Linked DNA regions of Homo sapiens: regions 1 and 3 are each linked to region 2. Evidence: promoter capture Hi-C in 16 types of primary human blood cells and fetal thymus (Javierre and others, 2016). All regions are on one chromosome and are shown on one strand. Each heading gives the region's core, a stretch centred on a gene start or on the middle of the fragment in contact. The rest is flanking DNA. Distances are from core to core; before and after follow the strand shown.

Region 1 (3,800 bases), core at 451-2,950, 330 kb after region 2:
GATCTCGGCTCACTGCAACCTCTGCCTCCCGGGTTCGAGCGATTCGCCTGCTTTGGCCTCCCAAAGTCCTGGGATTACAGGGATTAGAGGCATGTGCCACCATGCCCGGTTAATTTTTTTTGTATTTTTAGTAGAGATGGGGTTTCTCCGTGTTGGTCAGGCTGGTCTCGAACTCCTGACCTCAGGTGATCCGCCCACCTTGGCCTCCTAAAGTGCTGGGATTACAGGTGTGAGCCACCGCCACCAGCCTCACATATGGCTAATTTTTAAGTTTCTTCTAGCGATGCGGTCTCACTATTTTGCCCAGGCTGGTCTTGAACTCCTGGGCTCAAGCAGTCCTCCTGCCTTGGCCTCCCAAAGTGCTAGGATTACAGACGTGAGCCACTGCGCCCGGCCAATAAATATTTATGTCCATGTTACTGACAGCAGTGTTCGTTGGTGTGGCATGGGAATGAGCTAGCTTTTCTAGGAGGAGCCCCCTATGCTCCAGGGCTGCCCCGCTGTCTTGGCTCACCGGCCATGGGAGGGAGTCCTGGGCCATGATCTGTACCTAACATAGGAGGCCCAGGAGAGGCACGTGGGGAGGACTTCCAGCCCTGTTCCTTGACGTCTGCACCCTCCAGGGGAAGGATGACAGCTGCAGAAGGGCCTGTCTCTGTCACTCTGTAGTGAACAGTTACTTCTTGCCATCTGAAGTCACCCTGGCCTACGTCCATGAGATTGGCCAAATGGCAACTACCAACACCAGGCCATTTTCCCTGTGCAGAGGGGGAGGCCCTTTGGCGTGGGCTTCCTGGGCTTGAGGAAGCTTTGGCATGGCCTCTGGAGTTCCTGGGCATAGGCTGCCCTCCCTTGGAAAGGAGGCAGTTTCTCAGGGAGGGGTGCCGGGAAAGAGAACAGAACAAACTCTCACTTCCCCAGCCCTGTGGCGCTCTTTCTGGAAATGACTGTGTCACTTTTCTTTCTTGGTCAGCACGAGTCAGTGTGGCCAGTGCTTTAGACTCTCCCATCCCCTTGGCTCAGAAGCTTACACAGCAGCATGGGCTCCGTCAGGGGCTAAACTTCAGTTTGTGAGGGGCATGCCATGGGGTGGAAAGTTCAGAGAAAAACCCTTTGTCCAAAGAAGGTGAAGAATGGCCTGCTGTCACCGAACCAGGGGCCCTTGTGACTTCCTTTGGTTACACTCCTGGGATCCCCCTGACAGCTGGGGCAGGGGTATAGAAGAGCTTGTTATGTGCCCCATCTTTAGGACATCTCGGTGTCAAGCTGGAGTGACAACAGGGAAAGTTAGTAACCCCAGAAAGGCATTTGTGTTTCAGCGGTGCCTGCGTGTGGCTAATGGATACCGTCATTTATTGAGCATTTATCCCGTACCAGACTGTGCATAAACTTGTGTTGACTCAAAATGCTTGACCTTGGGGGCAGCTAGGGAAAGGGCAGTGATATAAATTAGGCCTATGGGCCACATTGAGCCTGTGGCCTATTTTTATCTGTGTTTGTATTTTATTAGTGAGACAGAGTCTCACTGTGTTGCCCAGGCTGGAGTGCAATGGCATGGTCTTGGCTCACTGTAACCTCCACCTCCCAGGTTCAAGTGATTCTCATGCCTCACCCTCCTGAGTAGCTGGGATTACAGGCCTGTGCCACCACCCTGGCTAATTTTTGTATTTTTAGTAGAGACAGGGTTTCACCATCTTGGCCAGGCTGGCCTCGAACTCCTGACCTCAAATAATCTGCCTGCCTCAGCCTCCCAAAATGCTGGGATTACAGGTGCGAGCCACCGCACCCAGCCTGTGTTTTATTATTTATTTATTTTGAGATGGAATCTCGCTCTGTTGCCCAGGCTGGAATGCAGTGGCGCAATCTCGGCTCACTGCAACCTCTGCCTCCCAGGTTCAAGCGATTCTCCTGTCTCAGCCTCCCGAGTAGCTGGGATTACAGGCACATGCCGCCATGCCCAGCTAATTTTTTGTATTTTAGTAGCTCACTGCAGCCTCTAACTCCTGGGCTCAAGTGATCCTCTGGCCTCATCCTCCCAAGTAGCTGGGACTACAAGCACATGTCACCACCCTTGGCTAATTTAAGCAATTTTTTTAGAGACAGAGTCTTGCTGTGTTTCCCAGGCTGGCCCCAAACCCCTGGCCTCAAACCATCCTCCTCCTGCCTGAGCCTCAGAAGTAGCTGGGATTATAGTCACGAACCGCTGGGCCCGGTGTGGCCTATTTTTGTACAGACAAAGCTAAGAAAGGCTTTTACAGTTTTTGAGAGATTGATTAGGGAAAAAAACTAAAACCCAATCCACAAACAACAATAATCAGTTGAGACCACAGTGTCCTGCAAAACCTGAAATATTTACTCACTGGCCCGAGGCAGGGGAAGCTTGTAGACCCCTGGGATAAATGAATGAGGCAGGCAGGAGTTGGGGTCTGTGGGGAGTTTGGCCCCAGCCAAAAGAGAAACCAAAAAATCCTCAGGCCGAATAGAGCATACTTCTGAATTGTGTGAGCCCCTTGTGCCAATTGTGGCGCTTACTGTATGTTACCACTTACTCTGAAAAGAGTTCTGTGAGGTCAGAGATACCAACCCCAATTTACTGGTGGAAAAACAGAAATGAAAGAACTTGACTGGCCAAAGTGATGTGGTTGGCAGGCAGCAGAGATGGCTTTGGCATTCTGGGTGACTGGATGCCCACCTTAAATGCATATATAAGTGGTTCAGTGACATTTATCTGTTCATCACAAAGACCCAAAGTAGCAGAGGCTTAATTAAACACGATGGCATTTTATTTTTTGTGCTCTAATGCTAAAGTGTGAAGATTGTCAGGTGCCAAAGTCTCCTGGGCTCTTGGAAGTTCCCAGATCCAGGTCCTCCCCCCGGCTTTTTTTTTTTTTTTGAGATGGTGTCTCGCTCTGTTGCCCAGGGGCTGCAGTGCAGTGGTGTGATCTCAGCTCACTGCATCCTCTGCCTCCCGGGTTCAAGCGATTCTCCTGCCTCAGCCTCCCAAGTATCTGGGACTACAGGCGTGTGCCACCACGGCTGGCTAATTTTTGTATTTTTAGTAGAGACGGGGTATCGCCACGTTGGCCAGGCTGTTCTCAAACTCCTGACCTCAGGTGATCCACCCGCCTCGGCCTCCCAAAGTGCTGGGATTACAGGCCACTGCCCCAGGCTGATCCTCCACCATTCTTAAGGTGAGGTCTTGTCCTCAGGTTTCAGCATGACTGCTGGAGTCCCGCCATTACACCCTGGCTTCCAGACAGCAGGACAGAGGAAGGGACAAAGGAGAAAGGGTGCAAAGGTCACATCCAGGTGTTTGTTAAGAAAGGTTCCCGGTAGCTGATGCAAGGTGCTTCAGCTTTCATTTTGTTGGCTAGAATGTAGTCACATGATCACTGCCAGCTGCAAGGGATGCTGGGAAATGTAGTTTTCAATCTGAGCGGCCATGTGCTCAGCTGAATTTAGGGTTCCAGTTTCCATGGACAAAGAGAGAACATACAGGGAGTCACCTTGGCCACAGTGGGTAGGATCTGGACCTGGCCAGAATGTTGGGAAGGACGTTTCTGGGTTATGGAGAGGTGCTCCAGTGGGCCAGGGCTGGAGACAGCCACCTGGCTTGGAGCACAGGGTCCCCTGTGAGGAGTGGAGGGGCTAAAAGTGGAAACAGGGCTGGGTTGGAATCGAGGATTTTTTTGGTTTTTTTGGAGATGAATTCTCGCCCTGTCACCCAGGCTGGAGCACAGTGGCTCAATGTCATCTCACTGCAACCTCTAGCCTCCCAGGTTCAAGTCATTCTCCTGCAT
Region 2 (3,815 bases), core at 623-3,122:
GCAACAAGAGCGAAACTCCATCTCAAAATAAATACATAAATAAATGAAAATAAAATAAAAAATAAAAATTGTCCCTGGCCAGGTGCAGTGGCTCATGTCTGTCATCCTAGAACTTTGGGAGGCTGAGGCTAATCGTTTCAGCCCAGGAGTTCAAGACTAGCCTGAGCAACACTGGGAGACTCTATCTCTACAGAAAAATTTTTAAAAATTAGCCAGGGGTGGCCAGGCACGGTGGCCCACGCCTGTAATCCCAGCACTTTGGGAGGCCGAGGTGGGCGGATCACGAGGTCAGGAGATCGAGACCATCCTGGCTAACACGATGAAACCTCGTCTCTACTAAAAATACAAAAAATCAGCCAGGCGTGGTGGCGGGCGCCTGTAGTCCCAGCTACTCGGGAGGCTGAGGCAAGAGAATGGTGTGAACCTGGGAGACAGAGCTTGCAGTGAGTCGAGATCGCGCCATTGCACTCCAACCTGGGCAACAGAACGAGACTCCGTCTCAAAAAAAAAAAAAAAAATTAGCCAGGGGTGGTGGCATGTGCCTATAGTCCTAGCTACTCAGGTGGCTGAGGCAGGAGACTTGCTTAAGCCTCGGCAGTTGAGACTGCAGTGAGCCATGATCAGGCCACTGCACTGTAGTCTGGATGACAGAGCAAGACCCTGTCTCAACAACAACAACCAAAATCTGTTTGGGCCTCGCAAGGTTAGAGAAAAAAAATTAAAAAATAAAATAAAATAAAATATTTTCCTGTAGTCTCAGCTACTTGGGAGGCTGAGGCAGGAGGATCACTTGAGCTAAGGAGTTTCAGGCCAGCCTGGGCAACATAGAGAGAACTTGTCTCTATAAAAAGTTAACTGATTACTTTTTAAAACAAAGAGGTTTTTTTTCAGCCTTATTGAGGTATAATAGACATATACAAAACCATGCAAATTTTAAGCGTACAATCTGATGAGTTTTCACACCTGTGAAGCCACTATTACAGTTAAGATACTGAATTTATCCACAGCTCCAAAAAATGTCTTCCTGCCTGAGGTGGTGGCTCACGCCTGTAATCCCAGCATTTGGGAGGCTGAGGCGGGAGGATCTCATGAAGCCAGGAGTTTGAGACCAGCCTAGACAACATAGCGAGACCCCTTATCTACAAATAAAATTTAAAAAATTAACCAGGCATGGTGGCTCCTGTCTGCGGTCTCAGCTACTCTGGAGGCTGAGGTTGGAGGATCAGAGTTGGAGGCTGCAGTGAGCTATGAAAGCGCCACTGCACTCCAGTCTGGACAACAGAGCCAGATGCTGTCTCGACAAAACAAACACTGAAAAAAACTTTCCTGGAGCACTTCATTCATCCCTCCCTCCCGCGCCTGCCTACCCCTGGATTTTTTTTCCCTGAGCATAATTCTCATGAAGATTCGTCTATGTTGTTGCGTGTATTCCAGCCCTATTTTGCACATGAGGAAACTGAGGCACAGAGAGGCGTGGCTTGCCCCGGAGGTCACACTAGTCGATTTGGTCCCAGGCCAGGGCGGGTTCTGGGTCGGCAGCCCGCGCAGGTGCACTCGGGAGGCGGGGCGGGCGCTGCAGGTGCGCAGTCAGTCTCACCTGGGCGCCTGCCAGGAGGTCAGTCCTGGGCCCTGGGGGGCAGGACTAGGGGCGGGGCCAGGGGCAGGGGTTCCCCAGCTCTGCTGCCTCCGATAAGGGCCTGAAGGGGCTGTCGCGCTCCTGGCGGTGTGATAAGGAGGGCGGGGGGAGGCCGCGGGAAGGCGTCGGGGTTTGAGGTCCCCGCCTGGCGACCCGGGATCGGGGCAGGAAAGGCGGCTGGGCGGGGAGAGGGCGGGGCGGGGCGTCTGGCTTGGCCACGCCCACCGTCATCCGGGGTCCTGGCCCGCTAAGATGGCGATGGCTGCGGTAGCAGCGGCGGCGGCTGTTGCCTGGCCCGGTACCCTGGGGACGGGGGCCGAGTAGCGCCTTCCCCGGGCCCCGTGAACCGGCTGCGGGTCGCCCTTGGGGGGCAGCGGCCGCAGCCCCCCACCTGGGCCCTCGGTCCGCCCTCCCGGCGCGTCCATGAACTCAGTGTCGCCGGCCGCCGCGCAGTACCGGAGCAGCAGCCCGGAGGACGCGCGCCGCCGGCCCGAGGCCCGCAGGCCGCGGGGTCCCAGAGGCCCAGACCCCAACGGCCTGGGGCCTTCCGGAGCCAGCGGCCCCGCTCTTGGCTCTCCCGGGGCTGGCCCGAGTGAGCCGGACGAAGTGGACAAGTTCAAGGCCAAGTTCCTGACAGCCTGGAACAACGTCAAGTACGGTGAGGAGGGGGCCCGGAGATCGTGGGGGTGTCGGGGGCCGTTGAGGAAAACCAGACCCCGGTCCTGCCAGTTATCCCACCCTTGTTCCCGTCCTGAGTCACCTGTGGGTCCCCTCCCTGCCCGGCCCAGGGTGGACCTGTGGCAGGTCCAATAGTGTTTTCAAGCCCCGCCCATTCCCCTGTGTGACCTTGGGCAAGATCCTTTGCTTCCTGGCGCCTCCGTTTTTGCCCCTCTCTGTAAAATGGGTACAATAATCAGAACTACCTTCCTTCATCCTGAATTGATGGTGGACACTCCTGTAGCTGTCACTGGGGGCCCCACCTCCGACGGAATCCCCGGAGCCACCCCGGAGATAGGAACTAGGATCGTGCCCATTTCACAGATGGGGGAATGGAAGCGCTGTTGCTGTCATGCAAGTGCTTCATCTCGCTGGGCGCTGCCCCTACGTCTCCCCAGGTTGGGTGGTTAAAAGCCGGACCAGCTTTAGCAAGATCTCCAGCATCCACCTCTGTGGCCGCCGCTACCGTTTCGAGGGCGAGGGTGAGCTGGTGGTTGGGACCAGGGCTGGGGGAGGCCTCTCCACGCCCGCCGGAGTGTCCCTGGTGGCAGCTGACAGACCCGCTCTTGTAGGTGACATACAGCGTTTCCAGCGGGACTTTGTGTCCCGCCTGTGGCTCACATACCGCCGGGACTTCCCGCCCCTTCCTGGGGGCTGCCTGACCTCGGACTGTGGCTGGGGGTGCATGTTACGCAGCGGCCAGATGATGCTGGCACAGGGCCTTCTGCTGCATTTCCTGCCCAGAGGTGAGCCATAGGGGGGAAGGGGTGCACTAGGAGTACAGGGTCAACTGCCATATCAGCAGTATTAGAATTACTTACCAACTAAGAGTTCAAAGTCACGTTAGAATTGTGTGTCAAGTAAGTTTTGGAGAGATGAGAGTTGTTTATAAGAGTTTCAGCCGGGGTTGGAAACGGTGGCTCATGCCTGTAATCCTAGCACTTTGGGAGGCTGAGGCGGATGGATCCCTTGCGGTCAGGAGTTCAAGACCAGCCTGGCCAATATGATGAAACCCCATCTCTACTAAAAATACAAAAATTAGCCGGTTGTGGTGGCACACGCCTGTAATCCCAGCTACTCCCGAGGCTGAGGTGGGAGAATCTCTTGAACCCAGGAGGCGGAGGTTACAGCAAGCCAAGATCGCACCACTGCACTCCAGCCTGGGCAACAGAGGGAGACTCTGTGTCAAAAATAAAAATAAAAAAAAGTTTCACCAGGCACGGTGGCTCATGCCTGTAATCCCAGCACTTTGGGAGGCTGAGGCTGGTGGATCATGAGGTCAGGAGTTCAAGACCAGCCTGGCCAAGATGGTGAAACCCCATCTCTACTAAAAATACAAAAATTAGCTGGGTGTGGTGGCAGGCACCTGTAATTTGGCAAGGTAAAGCAGAGAATTGCTTGAACCGGGGAGGCGGAGGTTGCAGTGAGCCGAGATCCGTGCCACTGCACTCCAGCCTGGGTG
Region 3 (4,077 bases), core at 830-3,329, 310 kb after region 2:
AGGTCAGGAGATTGAGACCATCCTGGCTAACAAGGTGAAACCCCGTCTCTACTAAAAATACAAAAAATTAGCCGGGCGCGGTGGCGGGCACCTGTAGTCCCAGCTACTCGGGAGGCTGAGGCAGGAGAATGGCGTGAACCCGGGAAGCAGAGCTTGCAGTGAGCCGAGATTGCGCCACTGCAGTCCGCAGTCCGGCCTGGGCGACAGAGCGAGACTCCGTCTCAAAAAAAAAAAAAAAAAAAATACAAAAAATAGCTGGGTGTGGTGGCATGCGTGTGTAATCCCAGCTACTCAGGAGGCTGAGGCAGGAGGATCATTTGAATCTGGGAGGCGGAGGTTACAGTGAGCCAAGACAGTGCCATTGCACTCCAGCATGGGTGACAGAGCAAGATTCTGTCTCAAAAAAAAAAAAGATATTGACCAGGCTAGTCTTGAACTCTTAACCTCAAGTGATCCTCCCACCTCGGCCTCCAGAGTAGCTGGGATTACAGATGTGAGTCACCATGCCCAGCATGAGCCACATAAGGTTTCTGAGCACTTACTATGGACCAAGAACTGTCTTTGGGCTTGCCCAAAGACATTCCAGGCTGACATTCCAGGCGGATGAGGACAGATGATAAACATGAAATCCAATATATATTCAACCTGCCAGCAGGGCACCAGATGAAATCCACCTGGGTGAGGATGTCATTATTTGAAGTAGAGTAGGGCGACTGGCCCCATGTTCTAATGGTCAGCCCTCTGGACTCTGAAGTAGAGTAGGGCAATCAGGGAAGCCCTCTCTGAGGAGGTGGCATTTGAGCAAAAAACTGAATGATGAGGAGGAGCCAATCATGTGGATATCCAGGGCATGTGTTGCAGGCAGAGGATACAGGATGTGCAAAGGCCCCGAGGCTGAAGCTTCCCTGGTGTGTCTGAGGAGCCCAGTATGGCTGAAGGATGGTGAACAAGGAGGAAAATGGGGAGAGGCGGGGCAGGGAGTTCACCAGGAGGATCGTGGGGGGTCTTGTAGACCACAGCAAGGATTCGATCTTTTCACCTGAGTGAGGGAACCCTGGCAGGGCTGATGTCCTTTTCTGATCTCTGAATGAGGAGGCTGGACATGGGTTATGGGTCAAGAAGCAGGAGGGAGGAGCCTTTGGTGGCCTTCTGTGTTACCATCAGTCAGAACTTTCCTGGCCGGGTGCAATGACCCACGCCTATAAGCCCAGGACTTTGGGAGGCTGAGGCAGGACGATTCCTTGAGCCAAGGAGTTCAAGATCAGCCTGGGCAACATAGTGAGACCCTGTCTCTACAAAAAAAAAAAAAAATTATTTTATTTTTTTTTTAGATAGGGGTCTTGCTTTGTTGACCAGGCTAGAGTGCAGTGGCGCAATCACAGCTCACTGCAGCCTCCACTTCCTGGGCTCAATCAATCTTCCCTTCTCAGTCTCCCTAGCAGCTGGGACTACAGCCGTGCACCACCACGCCTGGCTAATATGTCTATTTTTTGTAAAGACAGGGACTCACTCTGTCGCCCAGGCTGGAGTGCAGTGGTGTGACCCCAGCTCACTGCAATCTCTACCTCCGAGGTTCAAGCAATTCTCCTGCCTCAGCCTCTCGAGTCTCACTGCAACCTCTACCTCCGAGGTTCAAGCAATTCTCCTGCCTCAGCCTCCCGAGTAGCTGGGATTACAGGCGTGCACCACCATGCCCAGCTACTTTTTGAGTTTTAGTAGAGATGGGGTTTCACAATGCTGGCCAGGCTGCTCTCAAACTCCTGACCTCAGGTGTTCTGCCTGCCTCGGCCTCACAAAGTGCTGGAATTACAGGCGTGAGCCACCATGCCCAGCTCCCCCCAATTTTTTTTTTTTTTTTGAGACAGTCTCGGTCTGTCGCCCAGGCTGGAGTACAGTGGCACGATCTCGGCTCACTGCAACCTCTGCCTCCCGGGTTCAAGCGATTCTCCTGCCTCAGAGCCTCCCGAGTAGCTGGGACTACAGGCATGTGCCACCATGCCCAGCTAATTTTTTGTATTTTTTTTTTTAGTAAGAAGGGGTTTCACAGTGTTAGCCAGGATGATCTCAATCTCCTGATCTTGTGATCCGCCCACCTCAGCCTCCCAAAGTGCTGAGATTACAGGCGTGAGCTACCCCGTCCGGCTAATGTTTTTTTTTTTTTTTTTTTAATTAGGAGGGACTGCTGGCATGTGTCAGTAGGCTGAGGCAGGTGGATCACTTAAGCCGGGGAGGTAGAGGATATAGTGAGCCATGATCGCACCACTGCATTCCAGCCTGGGTGACAGAGGGAGACCCTGTCTGTAAAAACTTTTTTTTTTTTTTAATTTTTGAGACAGAGTCTCACTCTGTCGCCCAGGCTGAAGTGCAGTGGCCCAATCTCGGCTCACTGCAACCTTTGCCTCCCAGGCTCAAGCGATTCTCGTGCCTCAGCCTCCCGAGTAGCTGGGACTACAGGCGCCAACCACCACACCCTGCTAATTTTTGTATTTTTTAGTAGAGATGGGGTTTCACCATGTTGGCCAGGGTGGTCTTCAACTCCTGACCTCAAGTGATCCGCCCACATCGGCCTCCCAAAGTGCTGGGATTACAGCCATGAGCCACCGCGCCTGGCCCAAAAAAACTTTTAAAAAGAACTTTTTCACTGCAAAAAATAATCTTGTTGCCAGCCGAGGCCAACATGCAGCTATGACAGGGCAGTTCTCTGTCCTTCCCGGCCTCAGGCTCCTCTATCAAAGGCCCCCTTCTCTCACCTTGGCCTTGTGGCCTTGGAGTAGGGAGCTGACAACACCCCTTCTGCCCCAGGTGAATCAATGAACAAGGCTGACATTGTGAGAATACCAAGCGTCTGTCTTCTTCCCTCTTCTGGCTTAGCTCCTCACCTCCCTTGGGGTCAGGGCATCTCCTCTTTCTCCAGGAAGGGGAAGCGAAGTCTTGTGCTGAGAAGGTGACTCTGGAACTGCCACTCCCATGCCTGTGTGACTAGCTTCTGGGTGGATCTCAGGGTCTACCGTTGGGCTGGGGGTGGATGTCATCTGGCCACTGGCACCCAGACTGCAAGTAATAAAAACCTGACTCACACTGGCTCTACCAGCAAGAGGGGATTTGTTGGTTCACTGAGCTGAAGTCAGTTTACATGGCTGACTTCAGATATGGCTGGATCCAGGTGCTGAAAAATGACAGAAAGCATTTGCCTTCTCAGCTCCTCTTCTGTCTTATTCTCAGGTAGTTTCTCCCCCTCATGGAGGCAAGATTGTGCCCTGAAGCTTCAGATATATATTCTTTTTTTTTTTTTTTTTTTTTTTTTGAGACAGATTCTAGCTGTGTCACCCAGACTGGAAGGCAATGGCCCAATCTCGGCTCACTGCAACCTCCACCTTTTGGGTTCAATCGATTCTCCTGCCTCAGCGTCCCAAGTAGCTGGGATTACAGGCACGTAACACCTGGCTAATTTTTGTATTTTTAGTAGAGACGAGGTTTCACTATGTTGGCCAGGTTGATCTCGAACTCCTGACCTCAGGTGATCCACCCACCTCAGTCTCCCAAAGGGCTGGGATTACAGGCGTGAGCCACCGTGCCCAGCCATCTCTTTTTTTGTTTGTTTCTTCAGATGGGGTCTCTCTGTGTCACCCAGGCTGGAGTGCAGTAGCACGATCTCAGCTCAGTGCACCCTCCACTTCCCGGGTTCAAACTATTCTTGTGCCTCAGCCTCTGAAGTAGCTGGAATTACAGGTGTGCACCACACCTGGCTAATTATTTGTGGGGTTTTGTTGTTTTTTGTTTTGTTTGTTTCTTTTTGAGACAGAGTCTTGCTCTGTCACCCAGGCTGGAGTTCAGTGGCGCCATCTCAGCTCACTGCAACCTCCGCCTCCCGGGTTCAAGTGATTCTCCTGCCTCAGCCTCCTGAGTAAGTGGGACTACAGGCACGTGCCAGCACGCCTGGCTAATTTTTTGTATTTTTAGTAGAGACGGGGTTTCACAGTGTTAGCCAGGATGGTCTCGATCTACTGACCTAGTGATCCACCTGCCTTGGCCTCCCAAAGTGTGGGGATTACAGGCGTGAGCCACTGCGCCTGGCCA

The links. Contacts are between HindIII fragments. The CHiCAGO score rates a contact against its expected background, and 5 or more counts as called.
Region 1: a contact is called between a fragment that was not itself captured here and the fragment with the promoter of ATG4D in region 2, in 1 of 17 cell types (neutrophils). The highest score is 5.8, in neutrophils.
Region 3: a contact is called between a fragment that was not itself captured here and the fragment with the promoter of ATG4D in region 2, in 1 of 17 cell types (neutrophils). The highest score is 9.7, in neutrophils.

The regions. Positions count from the first base shown.
Region 1 is chr19:10,875,930-10,879,729 of GRCh38, forward strand. The region is part of intron 1 of CARM1 (coactivator associated arginine methyltransferase 1); the gene reads left to right. Among named protein-coding and RNA genes, the nearest start is that of CARM1, 6.3 kb to the left of the region's middle. RefSeq lists enhancers at 692-841, 1,022-1,251, 3,059-3,800. The HindIII fragment of the contact is 1,353 bases long and covers 1,025-2,377 here.
Region 2 is chr19:10,542,032-10,545,846 of GRCh38, forward strand. It overlaps ATG4D (autophagy related 4D cysteine peptidase), which reads left to right and starts at 1,873. Exons shown (of 10, transcript NM_032885.6): 1 at 1,873-2,294; 2 at 2,752-2,835; 3 at 2,926-3,099. The coding sequence starts at 2,060. RefSeq lists silencers at 1,589-1,638, 1,649-1,988, 2,039-2,218 and an enhancer at 2,264-2,859. The HindIII fragment of the contact is 8,842 bases long and covers 1-3,815 here.
Region 3 is chr19:10,851,752-10,855,828 of GRCh38, forward strand. All of the region lies in intron 2 of C19orf38 (chromosome 19 open reading frame 38), which reads left to right. Among named protein-coding and RNA genes, the nearest start is that of C19orf38, 5.4 kb to the left of the region's middle. The HindIII fragment of the contact is 2,363 bases long and covers 899-3,261 here.